Regions from separate parts of the Homo sapiens genome. Here all the other regions are linked to region 7. Evidence: promoter capture Hi-C in 16 types of primary human blood cells and fetal thymus (Javierre and others, 2016). All regions are on one chromosome and are shown on one strand. The core of a region is centred on a gene start or on the middle of the fragment in contact, and the rest is flanking DNA. Distances in the headings are between cores, read along the strand shown. Region 1 overlaps DAP3 (death associated protein 3). Region 2 overlaps GON4L (gon-4 like). Region 3 overlaps GON4L (gon-4 like). Region 4 overlaps DAP3 (death associated protein 3). Region 5 overlaps GON4L (gon-4 like). Region 6 holds the start of YY1AP1 (YY1 associated protein 1). Region 7 holds the start of RUSC1 (RUN and SH3 domain containing 1).

Region 1 (2,700 bases), core at 90-2,589, 380 kb after region 7:
GTCCCTCCTACAACACATGGGAATTATGGGAGCTGAAATTCAAGATGAGATTTGGGTGAGGACACAGCCAAACCAAATCAGCTTGACAAGTTTTTTCTTAAGACAGGGTCTTGCTCTGTCGCCCAGACTGGAGTGCAGTGGCATGAACTTGGCTCACGGCAACCTCTGCCTCCCGGGCTCAAGCAATTCTCCTGCCTCAGCCTCCTGAGTATCTGGGACTACAGGCGCCCGCCACCACACCCAGCTAATTTTTTGTATTTTTAGTAGAGATGGGGTTTCACCGTGTTAGCCAGGATGGTCTCGATCTTCTGACCTCGTGATCCACCCACGTTGGCATCCCAGAGTGCTGGGATTACAGGTGTGAGCCACTGCGCCTGACCTAGACTTTTTTAACTTGAAAACTAGTGAGGGCCAGGCATAGTGGCTCGCGCCTGCAATCTCAGCACTTTGCGAGGCTAGGGCAGGAAGATTACTTGAGGCCAGGAGTTAGAGATCAGCCCAGGCAACATAGCCAGACCCCATCTCTGTAAAAATAAAAAATTAGCCACCAGGTGGTTGCACATGCCTGTAGTCCCAGTTACTTAGGAGGCTGAGAAAGGAGGATTACTTGATCCTAGGAGTTAGGGGCTGCAGTGAGCCTAGATTGTGCCACTGCACTCCAGCCTGGGCAACAGACTGAGACCCGATCTCACAAAATAATCAAGTAGTGAGGAAATACTGAAGAATTTTAAGCAAGGCTTCAGTGGAGAAAATGTTTAAGTCTGGATGCTGGTAGATCATTTATTTTAATTTGGGTTCAAGATGATAGTGTCCTAGAACGGAAGCTGATTACACGTTCTGACCGTCATTTCTCATAGTGTCTATAACATAGGCAAAATAATAGCTCCAGTGTCCACAGGCACGCCTATGGAAAGAAGTGCATCTGGACCATGTCACACACTCCTTCCTCTCCAGTACCCAGCCTGCTTCCTAGTCCACAGCTCTTCCAGTAGTGGTTGTGCCGGGGAGCATTGAGAAGATCTGGGGAGCACAGTGGGGCAGGTCAAATACTATTGGAGTGACATTGCACTCTAGAAAAGGAGCCCTGAAATCCCACAAGTGAAAAGGCAGGCAGGCCAGTAGAGACCATCCCAGTCTTATTCACCACTATAGACTCTGTGTAGTGTGGGCGTGTGGAAGCATGTCATATGCTTCTTGAATGACTGAGTTTAGGAGTGCTTTGGCGTCTTCATTAAATAGTATGGCTGGGCAGGTGGCTTATGCTTGTAATCCCAATACTTTGGGGGGCTGAGGCGGGAGGATCACTTAAGGTCAAAATTTTGAGAACAGCCTAGCCAACATGGCGAAACCCTGTATCTACTAAAAATACAAAAATAAGCTGGCGTGGTGGCGGGCGCCTGTAGTCCCAGGTACTTGGGAGGCTGAGGCAGGAGAACTGTTTGAACTCGGGAAGTGGATGTTGCAGTGAGCCGAGATCATGCCACTGCACTCCAGCCTGGGCGACAGAGCAATATTCCATCTCAGAAATAAACAAACGAATCCAGTATATTTAAGGCCAAGTGCGATGGCTCATACCTGTAATCCCAGCACTTCGAGAGGCTGAGGTGGGAGGATCACTTGAGTCCAGGAGTTCAAGACCATCGCTGGCAACATAATGAGACTCTGTCTCTACAAAATAAAAAAGCCAGGCACAGTGGCACGTGCCTGTAATTCCAGCTACTTGGGAGGCTGAGGTGGGAAGATCACTTAAGCAGGGGAGTTCGAGGCTGCAGTGAGCTGTGATTGTGCCACTGTATTCCAGCTTGGATGACAGAGCAAGACCCTGTCTCAAGAAAAATAACAAATGTGATAAAGTTGAAGCAGAGCATGGTGGCTCACACCTGTAATCCCAGCACTTTGGGAGGCTGAGGCAGGAGGATCACTTGAGCCCAGGAGTTCAAGACCATCCTGGGCACCATAGCAAGGGTTATGTCTACCCAAAAAAAAAAAAATTTTTTTTTTAATATGCCAGGCAATGGCACCTATATTCCCAGCTACTTGAAAGGCTGAGGCAGGCGGATCACTTGAACCCAAGAGTTTGAGGCTACAGTGTGCTGTGATCTTGCCATTGCACCCCATCCTGGGCAATGGAGCGAGACCCTGTCTCAAAAAAAAAAAGAAAGAAAAAAAAAACAGAAAGGAAATAAAATGAAAGGAATTTATGTTATTCTCTCTCTCTTTTTATTTATTTTTAAATATTATTTATTTATTTATTTATTTTTTGAGATGGAGTCTTGCTCTGTCACCCAGGCTGGCATGCAATGGCGCAATCTCAGCTCACTGCAACCTCTGCCTCCTGGGTTCAAGCGATTCTCCCGCCTCAGCCTCCTGAGTAGCTGGGAAAACAGACATGCACCACCATGCCAGGCTTATTTTTTATATTTTAGTAGAGATAGGGTTTCACCATATTGTCCAGGCTGGTCTTGAACTCCTGAGCTCAGGCAGTCCATCCATCTCGGCCTCCCAAAATACTAGGATCACAGGTATGAACCACTGCACCTGGCCTCTTTTCATTTATTTATCTATTTATTTAGACCAGATCTGAGTGTATCATGCAGGCTGGAGTACAGTGGCATGATCATAGCTCTTTAACACCTGGCCTCAAGTGAGCCTTTTGCCTCAGCCTCCTAAGTAGCTACGACTACAGTCCTGCACCACCCT
Region 2 (2,700 bases), core at 195-2,694, 460 kb after region 7:
CAACCACTCAGTTCTGTTCAGGTAAACTATCATTACTTTAGTTATTTTAGTATATCCTTTTCCTGCTTCATGCTAGAAGATTTTTGACTTGTTAAGAAAGCAAGCCTTGCCAGTCAGAATGACAATTATTAAAAGGTCAAGAAACAGTCGGGCGTGGTGGCTCAAGCCAGTAATGCCAGCAATTTGGGAGGCCAAGGCAGGTGGATCACTTTAGGTCAGTGGTTCGAGACTAGCCTGGCTAACATGGCGAAACCCTGTCTCTATGAAAAAATACGAAAATTAGCTGGCCGTGGTGATGCGTGCCTGTAATCCCAGCTACTTGGGAGGCTGAGGCAGGAGAATCACTTGAACCCGGGAGGCAGAGGTTGCAGTGAGCCGAGATCGCGCCACTGCACTCCAGCCTGGGCGATAGAGCAAGACTCCATTTCAAAAAAATAAAATAAAATAAATAAATAAATAAAATAAATTCCTCTTCTAAGGTTCCTAACCCTAACTTCCCACCCCTACCCTCCTGAGAGACTGTTTCCAGGGCTGAAGCAAAAACTGAAAAACCCAGCATGACAGTTCTGAAGTAAAAGGAGAAAAAGATACTTAAGTGATTAAGCACGTGCTGATACCCTATGCAATCAGGATAAGACCTGCTGATGTAGTTACAACAAGCAGGTTATCATATTTCAAGTAATCTCCAATATTACAGCAATAGATAAATAAGTGTTTTCAATAGTTAATTTTTAAAAGTTATCATTTATCTATTGGGGATAAAAATCATTCTTTCTTTTATAGTATTTACTGTGGGTTTGGGCAGCACAGGGTAAAAACCTAAAGCCTGTGGGACTGTCTTATGCAATCTTCTGAGAACTGAAAACCTGATCACCTGCACTACTACCACTGAAGGAACAGAAGACCAGAAGCATAAAAAAGTAGGTAATGAAAACATAGCCTGCACGTAGTTGTATTTTTTATTATTATTATTATTATTACTATTATTTTTTTTTGAGATGGAGTTTCGTTCCTATTGCCCAGGCTGGAGTGCAATGGAGTGGTCTCGGCTCACTGCAACCTCTGCCTCCCAGGTTCAAGCAATTCTCCTTCCTCAGCCTCCCAAGTAGCGGGGATTACAGGCACCTGCCAACACGTCCGACTAATTTTTTTTGCATTTTTAGTAGAGACAAGGTTTCGCCATGTTGGCCAAGCTGGTCTCGAACTCCTGACCTCAGGTGATATGCCTGCTTCGGCATCCCAAAGTGCTGGGATTACAGGTGCCAGCCACCACGCCTGATCTATAATTATTATTATTATTATTATTATTATTTTTTGAGATGGAGTCTTTTTCTCTCTCTCAGGATGGAGTGCAGTGGCATGATCTTGGCTCATTGCAACTTCTGCGTCCTGGGTTCAAGCGATTCTCCTGCCTCAGCCTCCTGAGTAGCTGGGATTACAGGCGAGTGCTACCATGCCTGGCTAATTTTTTTATTTTTAGTAGAGACGGGGTTTCACCATGTTGGTCAGGCTGGTCTCAAACTCCTGACCTTGTGATCCGCCTGCCTTGGCCTCCCAAAATGCTGGGATTACTGGCGTGAGCCACCGCACCCGGCCTATTATTATTTTTTGAGAGACAGTTTCACTCTGTTGCCCAGGCTGGAGTACAGTGGCACAATCTCAGCTCAGTGCAACCTCCGCCTCCAGGGTTCAAGTGTTTCTCCTGCCTCAGCCTCCCAAGTAGCTGGGATTACAGGCGTGTGCCACCACACCCAGCTAATTTTTGTATTTTTAGTAGAGATGGGGTTTCACCATGTTGACCAGGCTGGTCTGAACTCCTGACCTAAAGTGATCTGCCTGCCTTAGCCTCCCAAAGTGCTGAGATTACAGGTGTGAGTCACCACACGTGGCCTTGCACCTAGTTTTAATAAGTATTACTTGGATAACTGACAAGGGAAGCACAGATAACTCACTTTCCCAGGGTTTTTGTTTTGTTCTTTTTTTTCCTCTCTCTTCTTTATTGTGTTTTAAGAAGTTTTTACTATCTATGGACTTACAGAATCCAGGATGCTTTATTTAGTCAAAGATTATAACAGGTTTGCATTTGCAACTGAAAGAGAAGCAGCAGCTGCCCAAGTACAGTCATGTGCCACATAATGTTTCAGTCAATAATGAACCACATATTCAGAGATGGCTCCATAAGATTACTGTACCTTTTCTATGTTTACATACATATGTACTTACCATTGTGTTACAACTGCCTACAATATTCAGCAGAATAACATGCTATACAGGTTTGTGGCCTGGGAGCAATATGTTATACCGTATAGCCTAGGTATGCAGTAGGCTAAACCATCTAGGTTTATCCAAGTGCTTTCTACACAATGATGAAATCGTTTAATGATAACATTTCACAGAATGTATCACCATGAGATGATATATGACTGTATTCTACTGAATACCAGAAGGTAACTGAATTCTAACAAGAGTTTTAAATTATTTCTATACTTTACAAATTTTATTTATTTTATTTTATTTTATTTTTTTGAGACAGAGTCTCTCTCTGTCAAGCAGGCTGTCATCTCAGCTCACTGCAACCTCCGCTTTCCGGGTTCAAGTGAGTATCCTGCCTCAGCCTCCTGAGTAGCTGGGATTACACACACCCGCCACCATGCCTGGCTAATTTTTGTATTTTTAGTAGAGATGGGGTTTCACCATGTT
Region 3 (2,733 bases), core at 31-2,530, 500 kb after region 7:
GGCAGAGCGAGACTCTGTCTCAAAAATAAATAAATAAATAAATAAAATCCATCACTCAACTAGTTACAGTAACAGAAAATAAAATTTAAATAGAAACTTAAAGGCCAGGTGCAGTCAGTGTCTTATGCCTGTAATCCCAGCACTTTGGAAGGCCGAGGCGGGTGGATCACTTGAGGTCAGAAGTCCGAGACCAGCCTGGCCAACATGGCGAAACCCCATCTCTACTAAAAATACAAAAATTAGCCAGGCATGGTAGCGCACGCCTGTTAATTCCAGCTACTCAGGAGGCTGAGGCAGGAGACTTGCCTGAACCCGGGAGATGGAGATGGCAGTGAGCCAACATCGCACACTGCACTCCATGGGCAACAGAGGAGACTCAAAAAAAAAATCCTAAAGGTGGGGACAGGGATCAGATCACTATCCTAATCTGCATTACAAAGTGTAAGGCCTTGGTCTAAAATCCTTTTACAAAACAATTCAAAGAACACATTAAGAAACAAGTCAAAGAACATATTAACACAGCAATGAAAGGGAACGAAGTATAGCTAAAACCAATAGTATAAATGAATCTCAAAAGCTTAATGTTGAATTTTAAAAAGCTAGGAACAAAACATATAAACATGGGTCCATTTATATAAAGTTCAAAACAGTAACAATTGAACTACAGTGTGTAGAGATACATATTGAGGTGATACAACTATAAAGAAAAGCAAAGAAATAATTACTAAAAGGCAGGGTAGTGGTTATTTTTAGGGGGAGGGAGGTGATTGTGACTGGGGAGGGTATACAGGGGTTGTCCTAGTAATGATATATTTCTTGACTTTGCTATGAGTTTCATGAGGATTTGCATTATAATAACCAAAGCTATACATTTTTATTCTATGCACGTTTCTATGCTGTATTTCATAATACAACAAATTCTAAAATTAAGGGAGTATAAAGGGCAGAAAAACAGCTTAAAGCACAGAAATGAGCTGAAAAAAGAACCATGTCTCAATCCTCTCTACAAGTGACATTACTAAGGAAGCAAAGTATACCCTGCTCTATTAAGACAAATATTACCAACTAACATTCACTGACCTCTTCAGCAGTTTCATCTTCTTCTTCATCATCCGGCTGGTATTCTTCATCTGAGGAATCATCTTCTTCAAGGTGGATATCCACAAACTGAGGAGGCTACATTAGTACAATTAGAAAGAAATGAAGTAATGGGAAACACAAATCATACGTATTTGGAAAATAAGGGGAAGAAGCAGGGCAGAAAAAAAAAAAATCCTAAGAGCATAATGTACAGCTAAAGCAAATAACACGAGGCAGAGGTTAAAGTGAATTCCATGAGATACAAACCTAAGAGTAATAGAATGGAAAAAAACAAAGCTGGAATTAAAACAAAGATTGATCAAGAAAAGTTAAAGAGGAAGTACTTAAGTTTCAAAACCGATGAAGTCTTTCTGGAAAAGAATAACAATTATTTCTTCCAAGTTTACCTTAATTTCATTGGCCTTCTTAATTGGTGAAATATTCCATGTTGGAATTACCTACCAACAAAGAATATAAATAATTAAGTTATCTTAACTGAAATAATTGTTTTTCATGTTTACTTCCTCTGTACCATCACTAACAGCCATATACTTAACAAGTAACTGCAGTGATCTAGAGGTGTTGATTATCCCTGAGGGTATACTCTCAATTATTTGTCAGAGTTAGAAAGAAGAAACCAGGAAAGAATCTATTACTGTCATTAGCATTTCTGCCTTACACCTGGTAAGCCTCACTTCTTTCTATAAATGAAGAAAACAATGTCTACCTTGTTCATATCACAGCTGCGGTTTACATGGAACAACAGATGTGACAACTATTTATAAACTATTAAACTACACAAACCTAAGATATTTTGGTTACAGTAGTCTTTTAACAGCAATATATTTTTGTAATCAGTTACATGAATCCACCATAAGTACAACTCCAAAAAGCCAGCCATGAAAAGCTTTTATGGACTATTCTGCCTATGGGGTAGCCCTGCTCTGCCTATGGGCTTTTTTTTTTCTTAAAAAAAAAAAAAAAAAAAAAAGCTTTTACCAGGGCATTTAGGGCAAAGTTTCATGTTGTCCACACTTATTTTTCCAATAGTACAGGAAAAAACAACACAGAGAGATATAAAGCAAATATGGCAAAATATTACTCTTGGAATTTAGATTCATTGTAACAATCTTTCAACTTTTTGAATGTTTGAAAATTTTTATAAGAGCTAGGGGGAAAGTTTTTCTTGTTTTTGTTTTTGTTTTGAGACAGGATCTTGCCCTGTTGCCTAGGCTAGAGCAGCAGCACAATCAGAGCTCACTGCAGCCTCAAATTCCTGAGCTCAAGCGATCCTCCTGCCTCAGCCTACTAATTAGCTAGGACTACAGGCATGCCTCCTCACCAGGCCTCACTAATTTTTTAAATTTTTTGTAGAGATGGAGTCTCATTAGGTTTCCCAGGCTGGTCTCAAAATCCTGGGCTCAAACAATCCTCCCACCTTAGCCTCTCAAAGCACTGGGATTATAGGTGTGAGCCACCACATCTAGCCTAAAGAACTTTTTTAAAGTTCTTATATACTGCTGATAAAATGCCATTGAGGATGTATAATTTCTTGACCATTTAATTGTAACCCAACCAAAAGCACCTTATGAACAAAAGCCAACTGGCCATTAGGTTCTGTCTCTAAAAGGAGTCTTAGCTTCTCAAATCAAA
Region 4 (2,700 bases), core at 129-2,628, 400 kb after region 7:
TCTCAATAAATCTTGCTGCTGCTCACTCAAAAAAAAAGAAAAACATTTAGTCATGTGTGGTAGCTGCTTCGGAGGCTGAGGCAGGAGGATGGCTTGAGCCCAGGAGTTCAGGCTGCAGTGAGCTACGATAGTGCCACGGCACTCCAACTCAGACAACAGAGTGAGACCCTGTCTCCAAAAAACAATTTTAATTAAAAAAAATTTTGTTGAAGAAATCATCTGCAGTGGCACTTTAAACTGTTCCAAGACATACACAGTACAATGTTTATTCAGCTTCAGAGCTGTGAGGTTCTATCTTTAATTAACTATTTGAAGTTGTTTTCAGACTGGCTTAACCAACAATGCTCTGTAAGAACTTACAGGTTCTTTTCATAATTTTCATTTACATGAAGGCCTACTTCCTCACCATTGTTTGTGGATATTAGCATTGTCATACTGCCTAATATGACTTTTTTTTTTTTAAATACTGCTCCTTTTGGAGCAGACCTAACTCACGGACAGTGTGCCCAGGGTAGCTGACTTTATTTTATTACTATTATTTTAATTATAGAGACAGGGTCTCACTCTGACAACCAGGCTGGAGTACAGTGGCGTGACCACAGCCCACAGCACACTCTACATCTCTGACCTCCTGGGCTCAAGCGATCCTCCTGTATTGGCATCTCAAAGTGCTGGGATTACAGGTGTGAGCCACAGCTCCCAGCCCTGATGTGACTTTTTTTTGAAATGGAGTTTCACTTTTGTCGCCCAGGCTGGAATGCAGTGATGCGATCTCAGCTCACTGCAACCTACGCCTCCTGGGTTCAAGTGATTCTCCTGCCTCAGCCTCCCAAAGAGCTGGGATTACAGGTGCTCGCCACCACGCCTGGCTAATTTTTATATTTTTAGTAGACATGGGGATTTGCCATATTGGCCAGGCTGGTCTCCAACTCCTAACCTCAGGTGATCCACCTGTCTTGGCCTCCCAAAGTGCTGGGATTACAGGGATGAGCCACCACGCCCAGCCAACATTTGTTTTAATACCTTTATCATGTTTTTTTGAACATTGAGCCTTCCATTAAGTTTGGAATTGCCTGTCAAATCCTACACCAATTCAATTGTTTTGTTAGGATTTCTTTTAAAAATATCAACACTGGCTGGGTACAATGGCTCACGCCTGTAATTCCAGCACTTTGGGAAGCTGAGGTGGGCAGATTACTTAAGGCCAGGAGTTCAAGATGAGCCTGGCCAACATGGTGAAACTCCATCTCTACTAAAAATACAAAAATTAGCTGGGCGTGGTGGCACACGCCTGTAGTCACAGCTACTTGTGAGGCTGAAGCAGGAGAATCGCTTGAACCCGGGAGGCGGAGGTTGCAGTGAGCTGAGATCGTGTCACTGCACTCCAGCCTGTGCGACAGAGCGAGACTCTGTCTCAAAAAAAAAAAAAAAAAATTAACACTATTTTAGTTATACTTACAAACAGTATTTGTTAGATATTCTTATTAGTAGACATATTTTAATATTTTCTTTGCAAATCAGTTTCACACACATTAGTACTTCCCAAATTTCCCACCAAAGTATTCTGGTAGCAAAAGGGGAATTAAACTCTGAAAGGTTAGTATGCTGGAGGTATGAGGTATGGATGGCCTTAGAGTTGTGAGGCAGCTGGTCACACCTGCTCCTGAGCCGCCATGTATTTAGTTCTAGAGAAAAAAGTCTAAATGGTTAAAGTAATAAAAATAAATTTTAGGCCAGGTGCGGTGGCTCACGCCTATAATCCCAGCACCTTGGGAGGCTGAGACGGGTGGATCATGAGGTCAGGAGTTCGAGACCAGCCTGACCAACATGGTGAAAGCCTGTCTCTACTAAAATTACAAAAATCAGCCTGGCATGGTGGTGGCACCTGTAATCCCAGCTACTGAGGAGACTGAGGCAGAAGAATTGCTTGAACCCCGGAGGCGGAGGTTGCAGTGAGCCGAGATCACACCACTGCACTCTAGCCTGGGTGACAGAGTGAGACTCTGTCTCAAAAAAAGAAAAAAAAAAAAAATCAACTAAAAATAAATTTTAGGCCAGGTGCAGTGGCTCACGCCTGTAATCCCTGCACTTTGGGAGGCCAAGACGGGGGTGTCACCTGAGGTCGGGAGTTTGAGACCAGCCTGACCAACATGGAGAAACTCCTTCTGTACTAAAAATACAAAATAGCCGGGCATGGTGGTGGGTGCCTGTAATCCCAGCTACTCGGGAGGCTGAGGCAGGAGAATCACTTGAACTGGGAGGCAGAGGTTGTGGTGAGCCGAGATCGTGCCATTGCACTCCAGCCTGGGCAACAAGAGTGAAACTCCGTCTCAAAAAAAAAAAAAGAAAAAAAATTTAAAGAGTTAATGTTTATTGAATTATTAACTTGTGTCAGAAATTTTAAGCATTTTTCTATATGCTTTCCATATTTACAGTGGCCCTAAGTGGTATACATAATTTTGTTATGAGATATATCAATTATTTATAGATTTCAGCTGAGATAGAATATATGCTTCAGTAATAGGAATAATCAAAAGCTGACTATCATGTTACTTAGTGCGGAATAATGTATTTCAGTTTTTAGCTAAGTTATATGGATAGATTTTCAAACTCAGTACCAACCCAGCTTCTCCTAACTGAGTAAATTAGAGGCATGCAATCTGATGGTCTTGGTTGCCACTTTAGGCAGAGTATATATAC
Region 5 (2,733 bases), core at 1-2,500, 440 kb after region 7:
AAACAAATAAACAAAGAAAATACCTTATCATGATTTTGGACCCCGATCTCTTTTTTCCTCTTGTTCTTTGAGGCTGTGGGTATCTTGGGAGGCTCCTCCTCTTCTTCCACATCAGGCAGGGCCACTTCTTCAAAGCCATCAAACTGAGAAGGAGTTGGTGCTGCTGAGCACAGACACCAGGCCAATATCCCTCCCACGTGTGGCCTTCCCCCTTCATAAGGCTACAGCAGCCTTAGGTCCTATACCTCATACTCCTTTTCCTCAGTCCAATTGATCTCTTCAAAGTCACCCATCCGGCTAGCTGCTGGGCGCAAGTGGTCAAAGAAGATAGAAAACTCATCCTGCAGGTGGTCGTGGCCCTTGAGGAGCTGCCACATCTGTGTCTTGAGCTGAGGAGAGTCACAGAGGGAAAGAGGAAGTCTCCAGAGCCTCTCTAGGCTGCCCTTCCCAATCAATCCCACATACTTCCATGTTCTGCTTTCCCAGTCAACTGGGAAACACACAGAGACTCTGCCTGGTAACAAAGAATACTAAAACTTTCTCTTCCTCCTTAGCTGCCTATAGGGGAAGGGTACTAATACTGGATTTGATTCCTAATGATTCCACTCTCCACTCCACCCTACTGATCTCCAGCTAGGGCACTATTCCAAGCAGAGCAAGGAGGTAAGGCCCCTCCCAGGTCCCAGAACCTCCTTCGCTGAACATCCCTTCCAGCACATCCATGGCATTCCTGAGCCTGTGAAGATCAGACAGGCTCCGGTTTCAGGTAGCAATCCCTCCCTATCCCAGTGCTTTATGCTTTGGGTGAGCCTGAAAAGTCCTTGCCTTTTTCATCTCCTCCAGGAAGCCCATGAGCCTCCAGAGGCAAAAAGGTATGGAGTAGGTTGGGGAAAGAGACAAGGGAAAGGCCTAAGGCCCGGAAGACAACAGGAAGAAAGCAGGACAGGAAAGAATACCTCGGTGATCTCCTGGGGAAGGCAGTCTGCACAGCCTTGGAGGACCTTGATAATCTTCTGGTGGTGTGAGGGGTTCTCTGCAAAGCAAATCTCCAGCTGCCGAAGGAACTTGCGGCTCTTCTCAAAAGCCTGCTGCTCCTCAAACTACCAGAGTGGAAAGTGGGCAAAAGAGGAGTCATGATACAGCTAGAGCAGGACTTGAGGGTTCTAAGGATAAGAACTAGTGGACTAGGACACAAGAGATGACAGAACCCTGGTTTAAAATTCTAGTTTACAACTATTGAGATCTAATTTAAAACCCTAACCTCCATCCACCTTGGGCCACTGGTGGGTAGCCACCCAAAGCAATTAAGATGTGAGCAACAGCTTCAAGAGATGTATATATTTCAAGTTGTTTGCTGTTTTAAGGATTGTGAAATCAGCCACCAAAATTCATATGATACTTTAGAGTTTATATTACAAAGAACTTTCAGGCTGCACAAGGTGGCTCATAGCTGTAATCCCATGTTGGGAGGCCAAGGCAGGAGGATCGCTTAAGGCCAGGAGTTCAAGAACAGCAACATACTGAGACTATGTCTCTACAAAAAAATTTAAAAATTAGGCAGGGGCCGTGGTGTACACCTGTAGCTTGAGCTACTTGGGAGGCTGAGGCAGGAGGATCCCAGGGGCCTGTGTTGTCCAGGCTCATCTCAAACTCCTGTCTACAGGCCAGCTGTGGTGGCTGATGCCTGTAATCCCAGCACTTCGGGAAGCCGAGGTAGGCAAATCACCTGAGGTCAAGAGTTCGAGACCAGCCTGACCAACATGGTGAAACCCCATCTCTACTAAAAATACATAAATTAGATAGGTGCGGTCATGCATGCCTGTAATCCCTGCTACCCGGAAGGCTGAGGCAGGAGAATCACTTGAACCTGGGAGGCAGAGGTTGCAGTAAGCAGAGATCACACCACTGCACTCCAGCCTGGGTGACAGAGTCAGACTTTGCCTCAAAAAACAACAACAATAAAACAACAACAACAAAACTCCTGGCTACAAGGGATCCTCCCACCTTAGCCTCCCAAAGTGCTGGGATTACAGATGCCAGCCACTGTGTCTGGCCATTGTCTCTCTCTTTTTTGTTTTTGAGACAAGGTCTTGCTCTTGTCACCCAAACTGGAGTGTAGTGGAGCAATCATGGCTGAGTGAAGCCTCAACCTCTCAGGCTCAAGTGGTCCTCCCACCTCAGCCACCCAAATAGCTGGGACCAAAGGTGTGCACCACCACACCCAGTTAGTTAATTTTTTTATTTTATGTAAAGATGGGGTCTTGCTATGTTGTCCAGGCTGGCCTCCCAAAGTGCTGGGATAACAGGTGTGAGCCACCATACCTGGCTGACATTATCTCTTTAAAAAAATTTTTTGGCCAAGTGTGGTGGCTCACACCTGTAATCCCAGCAATTTGGGAGGTCGAGGTGGGCAGATCACCTGAGGTCTGGAGTTCGAGACCAGCCTGACCAACATGGAGAAACCCCGTCTTTACTAAAAATACAAAATTAGCCAGGCGTGGTGGTGGCGCATGCCTGTAATCCCGGCTACTCGGGAGGCTGAGGCAGGAAAATCGCTTGAACCCAGGAGGCGGAGGTTGCAGTGAGCCGAGATCACGCCACTGCACTCCAGCCTGGGCAACAAGAGTGAAACTCCATCTCAAAAAAAAAAAAATTTTTTTTTTTGTTCACGTATACACTGATTGGAACCTCATAATACCAGAAGAGAAAATGGGCATCACACATTATATGCAG
Region 6 (2,700 bases), core at 66-2,565, 370 kb after region 7:
TCCATTACACTTACACAAATAAAGGCAAACTCTTACGGAAACACTTGCCATCCTCACATACACACACCAACACAGCCGCTACACACCAACAGACCATCTGTCTGCTAGACCAAAAACATCTCTTTCCATGTACAAACTAACCAGTGACATTTATTAAACGTACAACACTGAGATCATCCTGTCGTTCCCACATACCGTTCAACGCGGCAGGGACACCACAGACCTTGTCACACAGGTAAAATCCCCTCTCAAGATCGTGTCCTCGACCACTCTTATCCCTTAATTAAACACACACAAACTGGACTATGGGGGAGGCTCCGATCATGCCTACAAACACAAACTAACCTGTCAGGGGCACAGCCGACTCCGCCTCCACTCGCTTACTTCCCAGCCCCCTCCGGGAGTCTGCCTGTCAGGGACACCCCTTCACCCCGCCTGGAGGGACTTCCCGGTAGGCTCAGGATCCCCCTCCCTGCTCTCCCCTCCCCCATCTTCACCACTGCTCTCCCAGAGGTCCAGGTCCGGGAGATGACAGTGGCTCCCAGAAAGCCCAGGATTCAATCGCTGAGAGAGTGCTTAGGCCCGAATGCCGGCCCAAATCGTTCTACTCACCGTGTCGGAGGCCGAGAGCGATGAGAGTACAGGGAAGTGAGGAAGAGGGGGTGGCCGCCAGGCTCCTCCGCTTCCCTGGGTCCACCGCGGATCCCTCCCGCTTGTCAGGAGGCGGCCAGCGGGTAAGCCGACTGGCGGAAATGCGAGAGAGGAGAAGGGAAAGGTGGAGGGCTAAAGGGGCAAACTGAGAGGAGGCGGATCCCGCAACCGACACTGGGATCGTTTCCCCTCGCAAAGCGAACCCAAAATGGCGGCGGCAGCGGCGGCAGCAGAGTGGCCGCGGCAGCTCCTCCAGAGGGAGGGAGCTAAGGGCGCCTAGCGACACCCCCAACCTCCCACTCCTCCCTCCTCGCGTTCTTCCCCACGGTCCCCCGCTTCGCCCGACTCCGGCCATGTAGCGCGCACGTCAGCCCGCACGCGTACGAGTGTCTACGGGCTCGTCGCTGGCTGCTCCCACCAACCACCACCTTCGGCCGTCCTGCGAGCCAGCCATCCCGTACGCGCTCACCCACGGGAACCTCCTCGCCCAGTTCTCCACTCCCCCTCAGACCCTGTCAAGCCGGCTCCAGCGCAGGCCCTCACGCGTACCTTCAGCGGCGCGAGCCCAAGCCTTCTCCACCTCCTCTTCTCTCCTCCCCCTCCCTCCCCGCCCGCACGGCCACCAACCGCCGCCAAAGCAGCCGCCGCCAGCACCCCCACCCTACACTCCTCGCGCGTGCGCCTCCCACAGTCCCCACCGCGGGACTGTTCCATTCCTGGCGGCTGCAGGGGCAGGAGAGGAAGGGACCGGCAAAGCGAGTCTGGCTTGCCGTTTGACTGGAATTGCCAGGGTGGCCGGCCGAGTCCCATGACAACCTACCTCCCTGGGTTCGTCGCCGCGGCGCTGCGGCTCGCCTCCTCCTCCATGGGACCGCGGCGAGGGGATCGAGGGCGGCCTAGCGCCCCTCTGCCGGCCGGTGGTTGGAGGCCGCGGCGGCTGCGCGTTGAGTCGTTTCCTGCCGGATGACCCGACCCTTTTTTGCAGTCTCAGGACGGGCGCTTTGGAGCCGGCCCCAGGCAGCGTGTGTCGGTCGCCTAGTCTGGAGAACTAGTCCTCGACTCACGGTGAGGGAATGGACCGACACGGGTATTGTACCGCTGAGGGAAAGGAGCGGGACTCCGGACCTCCAGGAGGTAGGGAGTGAGGCCGGTAGACCGGCGCGCCTCCGGGGGGGATTCCTCCCGGGCGTTGAGTTGCCAACCTGGGACCCGAGGAAGTTCGGCGTGGTGGTGTGCTTTTTGTTGTTGTTAACCCTCCTCGGATTTCTCGAATTTCACACCACTGTCCATATGCGATGATGTTTGTTTGCCCTTGACGCACTTACTCATGGATGGTACTTCAGCCTCGTTAGACAGCCTGGTGATGGAGGATGAAGAAACCATGTGCTTCTCATTCAGTTCTGGACTCAGTTTCCCTTGTCTTCAGCAAGTTATTTTTGTTAGTTCCTTATCAAAAAGTGTACATAAAAATTAGGCAACTCCAAACATGCCTCCAGGGTTGGTGTGTGAAATAATAAGATAGGGCTGGGCGCGGTGGCTCACGCCTGTAATCCCAGCACTTTGGGAGGCCGAGGCAGGTGGATGACAAGGTGAAGAGATCGAGACAATCCTGGCCAACATGGTGAAACCCCGTCTCTACTAAAAATACAAATATTAGCCGGCCGTGGTGGCGGGCGCCTGTAGCCCCAGCTACTCGGGAGGCTGAGGCAGGAGAATTGCTTGAACCCGGGCGGCGGAAGTTGCAGTGAGCCGAGATCGCGCCACTGCACTCCAGCCTGGCGACAAAGCGAGACTCCGTCACACACACACACACACACACGAAATAATAATATATGTAAAGTGGAATTAGCTCCTAGGCATAGGGAAGGTGCAGAGTATTGCCGTGTTGTCATTTACAGTTCTGTTGATGTCGATAACGTTTGTGGGTGTAATGGGTAGTGTTCTGTCCCTCCAAGTCGTTAATAAAACAAAGCAGGCCGGGCGTCTTGTTAAATAGTTGTATCAATGACTTGATTTAGATTAATGAGGATATATTTTTCAAATTTATGC
Region 7 (2,700 bases), core at 167-2,666:
TCAGGGAAGCCAAGATGTCTGAAGAGAGAGGAAAGATTTGGGGCTGCAGTAGGGCAAGACCCCATGGGAGGAAGCAGCCAGGAAGATGCCGGCACCCCTGGGGTTTGGCTTATTAACCCCCCTTTCCCTGCAGGCAGGAATTGATGGCGAGAAGGAGCACGCCAATGCCAAGAAGATCCTGCTGGAGATGGGGGAGTTCTTTCAGATTCAGGTAAGAAGGCAGGAGGCAGTAGCAGAGAACAGGCACCAGCTTCACTCCTCCTCTGCCCAGGAACCTCATCCTTCCTCTTTTGCTGCCCTCCCCCTCCCTGCCCAGGATGATTACCTTGACCTCTTTGGGGACCCCAGTGTGACCGGCAAAATTGGCACTGACATCCAGGACAACAAATGCAGCTGGCTGGTGGTTCAGTGTCTGCAACGGGCCACTCCAGAACAGTACCAGATCCTGAAGGTGCCTGAGAGAGGGTGGTGGGTCCCTGAGTTGGTGGAAAGGGATAGAGCAGTGGTTCTCAACTAGAGGCAGTTTTCCTCCCGAGGGGACATTTGGCAATGTCAGCAGACATTTTTTGCCATTGTCATTACAACTCTGTGTGTGTGCATGTGGTACAGACATCTAGTTGGCAGGAGCCAAAGATGTTGCCAAACATGTAGTACACAGAACAGCTCCCCCAGACAGGATTATCTGGTCCCAAATTTCAATAGTGCCAAGGTGGAGAAACCCTGGAGTAGAGGATGCCTGGTATGAGGCAATATTTGGGATAGGGAAGGGAAGCTTGGGATTTTAGCTACGTAGAGACACTTGAAAATTGGAGGGAGGAAAGGAGTGGGTGGCTTTGGAGATGTTCTGGAATATGTGAATGAGGGGAGTGGAGGGGTCCTGGAGGCTCTGGGGAAGGCCAAGCCCGTTTTCCTGTCTTTCAACCTCTTCCAGGAAAATTACGGGCAGAAGGAGGCTGAGAAAGTGGCCCGGGTGAAGGCGCTATATGAGGAGCTGGATCTGCCAGCAGTGTTCTTGCAATATGAGGAAGACAGTTACAGCCACATTATGGCTCTCATTGAACAGTACGCAGCACCCCTGCCCCCAGCCGTCTTTCTGGGGCTTGCGCGCAAAATCTACAAGCGGAGAAAGTGACCTAGAGATTGCAAGGGCGGGGAGAGGAGGCTCTCAATAAATAATCGTGTAACCTTCTTGTGGTTCTGTTCTTGCTCGGCCCAGCCAGAGTCTGGCTCTTTCCAGAATGTGCAGGGTGGGGTGCTGGGAGGACTCGCTGCACGGAACCAGGACCCAGGGGCCAAAAGCTTAGGATATATCAAACCCTCTAGGTGGGTGACAAAAGACGCTAAACGCTGGGGGCGGGTCTGAGCTACGCCACGCCCATGCGCGAAGGGGTGCAGCTGCGCAGCGCAGGGTAGGTTGTGCTAGTGCCCCTCCCCTCCCGCTCTGTGCCCCGCCGGGCGGGGACCGTGGGAGCCGCGGACAAGCCCAAGGCCGGAGCGGTTCCAGGAGGACCCTGGTGAGGAGGGCTCGGCCCATGGGTGTAGACCGATGGACCTGGGCACGAGGGGCGGGGCAGGACAAGGGAGCAGGAGAAATGAATAGAGAAAGGGTGCGGTGGTGGCTGAACGATGGAGACGAATGCGGAGAGAATGGACATACCGCTGTTCCGAGGGGCGAGGGCGCAGGCTGGAGCCCGGCCGAGGCAGCCAGCAGATGCGGAGTTGACAAGCTGACGGCTGCTCCATCCTTTTCCTCTCCAGCCCCCACCCCTTTCCTGCATTCACCAGACAAACTCTGCGTATTGCCCCACCCCCATCCTCCACCTCCTTTCAGGGCATCTGGGTGGGTCTCCCTGGGTCCCTTCCTCTGGGAGTAAGGGGTAGGCTGGAGGGCAGGGCCAGATTGCGGCAGCAGGGACCTGGAGGTCCATTCTGGGCCCGGACCTCTTCCAGGCCCCCGCCCCCCTTCGGAGATCCAGAGCGCAGCCGCGTTCTCTGACCCTCCCGGCTCCATTCCCGGGGGGTTACATTCGACTCCATCTGCAAACACTGCAGTGGAAACTAATGGTCAGTCGATTGCGATTTGCATCTCATTGAAATATCTTCCAAAGCAGCCAGAGCCTTCAGGCCTGCTGCTGCCGTCAAGTCACCTCGGTGTCCTTCCCCGCAGCTCTTGTCCTCACTGGCCGGGCTTCACCACCTCTGTCTTCTAGGTCTGCACCTGTGGTTGCCAGGTAGGTGGATGTGAGAGACCCTACCCTTCTGGTTCTCTAGAAGCCATCCCATCGCCGCTAGCATCATGCTGTCCCCTCAGAGAGCTTTACTCTGCAACCTCAACCACATCCACCTCCAGCACGTCTCCCTGGGCCTGCACTTGTCCCGCCGTCCTGAGCTACAGGAGGGGCCTTTGAGCACACCCCCTCCTCCAGGAGACACTGGGGGCAAGGAGAGCAGGGGCCCCTGCAGTGGCACCCTGGTGGACGCCAATTCCAACAGCCCAGCTGTGCCCTGCCGGTGCTGCCAGGAGCACGGTCCGGGCCTAGAAAACCGGCAGGACCCGTCACAGGAGGAAGAGGGGGCTGCCTCTCCCTCAGACCCAGGCTGCTCCTCCTCACTCAGCTCCTGCTCAGATCTTAGCCCCGATGAGTCCCCTGTCTCAGTCTACTTGCGGGACCTCCCTGGTGATGAGGATGCCCACCCTCA

Evidence for each region. The method cuts DNA at HindIII sites, captures the fragments that hold promoters and counts their contacts. A CHiCAGO score of 5 or more calls a contact.
Region 1: a contact is called between a fragment that was not itself captured here and the fragment with the promoter of RUSC1 in region 7, in 2 of 17 cell types (M2 macrophages and endothelial precursors). The highest score is 5.9, in M2 macrophages.
Region 2: a contact is called between a fragment that was not itself captured here and the fragment with the promoter of RUSC1 in region 7, in 1 of 17 cell types (M2 macrophages). The highest score is 7.8, in M2 macrophages.
Region 3: a contact is called between a fragment that was not itself captured here and the fragment with the promoter of RUSC1 in region 7, in 4 of 17 cell types (M1 macrophages, M0 macrophages, M2 macrophages and 1 more). The highest score is 12.0, in M1 macrophages.
Region 4: a contact is called between a fragment that was not itself captured here and the fragment with the promoter of RUSC1 in region 7, in 2 of 17 cell types (M2 macrophages and M0 macrophages). The highest score is 8.0, in M2 macrophages.
Region 5: a contact is called between a fragment that was not itself captured here and the fragment with the promoter of RUSC1 in region 7, in 3 of 17 cell types (M2 macrophages, monocytes and M1 macrophages). The highest score is 6.9, in M2 macrophages.
Region 6: a contact is called between the fragment with the promoter of YY1AP1 here and the fragment with the promoter of RUSC1 in region 7, in 10 of 17 cell types (M1 macrophages, naive B cells, M0 macrophages and 7 more). The highest score is 8.4, in M1 macrophages.

What each region holds. Positions count from the first base shown.
Region 1 is chr1:155,703,457-155,706,156 of GRCh38, forward strand. All of the region lies in intron 1 of DAP3 (death associated protein 3), which reads left to right. Among named protein-coding and RNA genes, the nearest start is that of DAP3, 16 kb to the left of the region's middle. The HindIII fragment of the contact is 5,985 bases long and covers 1-2,700 here.
Region 2 is chr1:155,780,165-155,782,864 of GRCh38, forward strand. All of the region lies in intron 14 of GON4L (gon-4 like), which reads right to left. Among named protein-coding and RNA genes, the nearest start is that of GON4L, 76 kb to the right of the region's middle. The HindIII fragment of the contact is 9,234 bases long and covers 1-2,700 here.
Region 3 is chr1:155,814,725-155,817,457 of GRCh38, forward strand. GON4L (gon-4 like) reads right to left here. Exons shown (of 32, transcript NM_001282860.2): 7 at 1,488-1,538; 8 at 1,081-1,176. Among named protein-coding and RNA genes, the nearest start is that of GON4L, 41 kb to the right of the region's middle. The HindIII fragment of the contact is 1,410 bases long and covers 576-1,985 here.
Region 4 is chr1:155,722,623-155,725,322 of GRCh38, forward strand. The region is part of intron 4 of DAP3 (death associated protein 3); the gene reads left to right. Among named protein-coding and RNA genes, the nearest start is that of DAP3, 35 kb to the left of the region's middle. The HindIII fragment of the contact is 2,795 bases long and covers 1-2,700 here.
Region 5 is chr1:155,756,935-155,759,667 of GRCh38, forward strand. It overlaps GON4L (gon-4 like), which reads right to left. Exons shown (of 32, transcript NM_001282860.2): 25 at 957-1,100; 26 at 246-389; 27 at 24-143. Among named protein-coding and RNA genes, the nearest start is that of DAP3, 69 kb to the left of the region's middle. The HindIII fragment of the contact is 8,033 bases long and covers 1-2,733 here.
Region 6 is chr1:155,687,459-155,690,158 of GRCh38, forward strand. YY1AP1 (YY1 associated protein 1) reads right to left here and starts at 1,316. Exons shown (of 11, transcript NM_139119.3): 1 at 1,201-1,316; 2 at 613-743. It overlaps DAP3 (death associated protein 3), which reads left to right and starts at 1,633. Exons shown (of 13, transcript NM_004632.4): 1 at 1,633-1,716. It also overlaps the pseudogene LOC124904430. RefSeq lists enhancers at 722-1,356, 1,732-1,781 and a silencer at 1,192-1,241. The HindIII fragment of the contact is 12,603 bases long and covers 1-2,700 here.
Region 7 is chr1:155,319,478-155,322,177 of GRCh38, forward strand. It overlaps RUSC1 (RUN and SH3 domain containing 1), which reads left to right and starts at 1,417. Exons shown (of 10, transcript NM_001105203.2): 1 at 1,417-1,514; 2 at 2,211-2,700. The coding sequence starts at 2,297. FDPS (farnesyl diphosphate synthase) reads left to right here. Exons shown (of 11, transcript NM_002004.4): 9 at 134-211; 10 at 317-451; 11 at 932-1,188. The coding sequence ends at 1,132. RUSC1-AS1 (RUSC1 antisense RNA 1) reads right to left here. Exons shown (of 6, transcript NR_145424.1): 3 at 2,148-2,218; 4 at 326-455. RefSeq lists a silencer at 1,359-1,508 and an enhancer at 2,124-2,700. The HindIII fragment of the contact is 14,544 bases long and covers 1,298-2,700 here.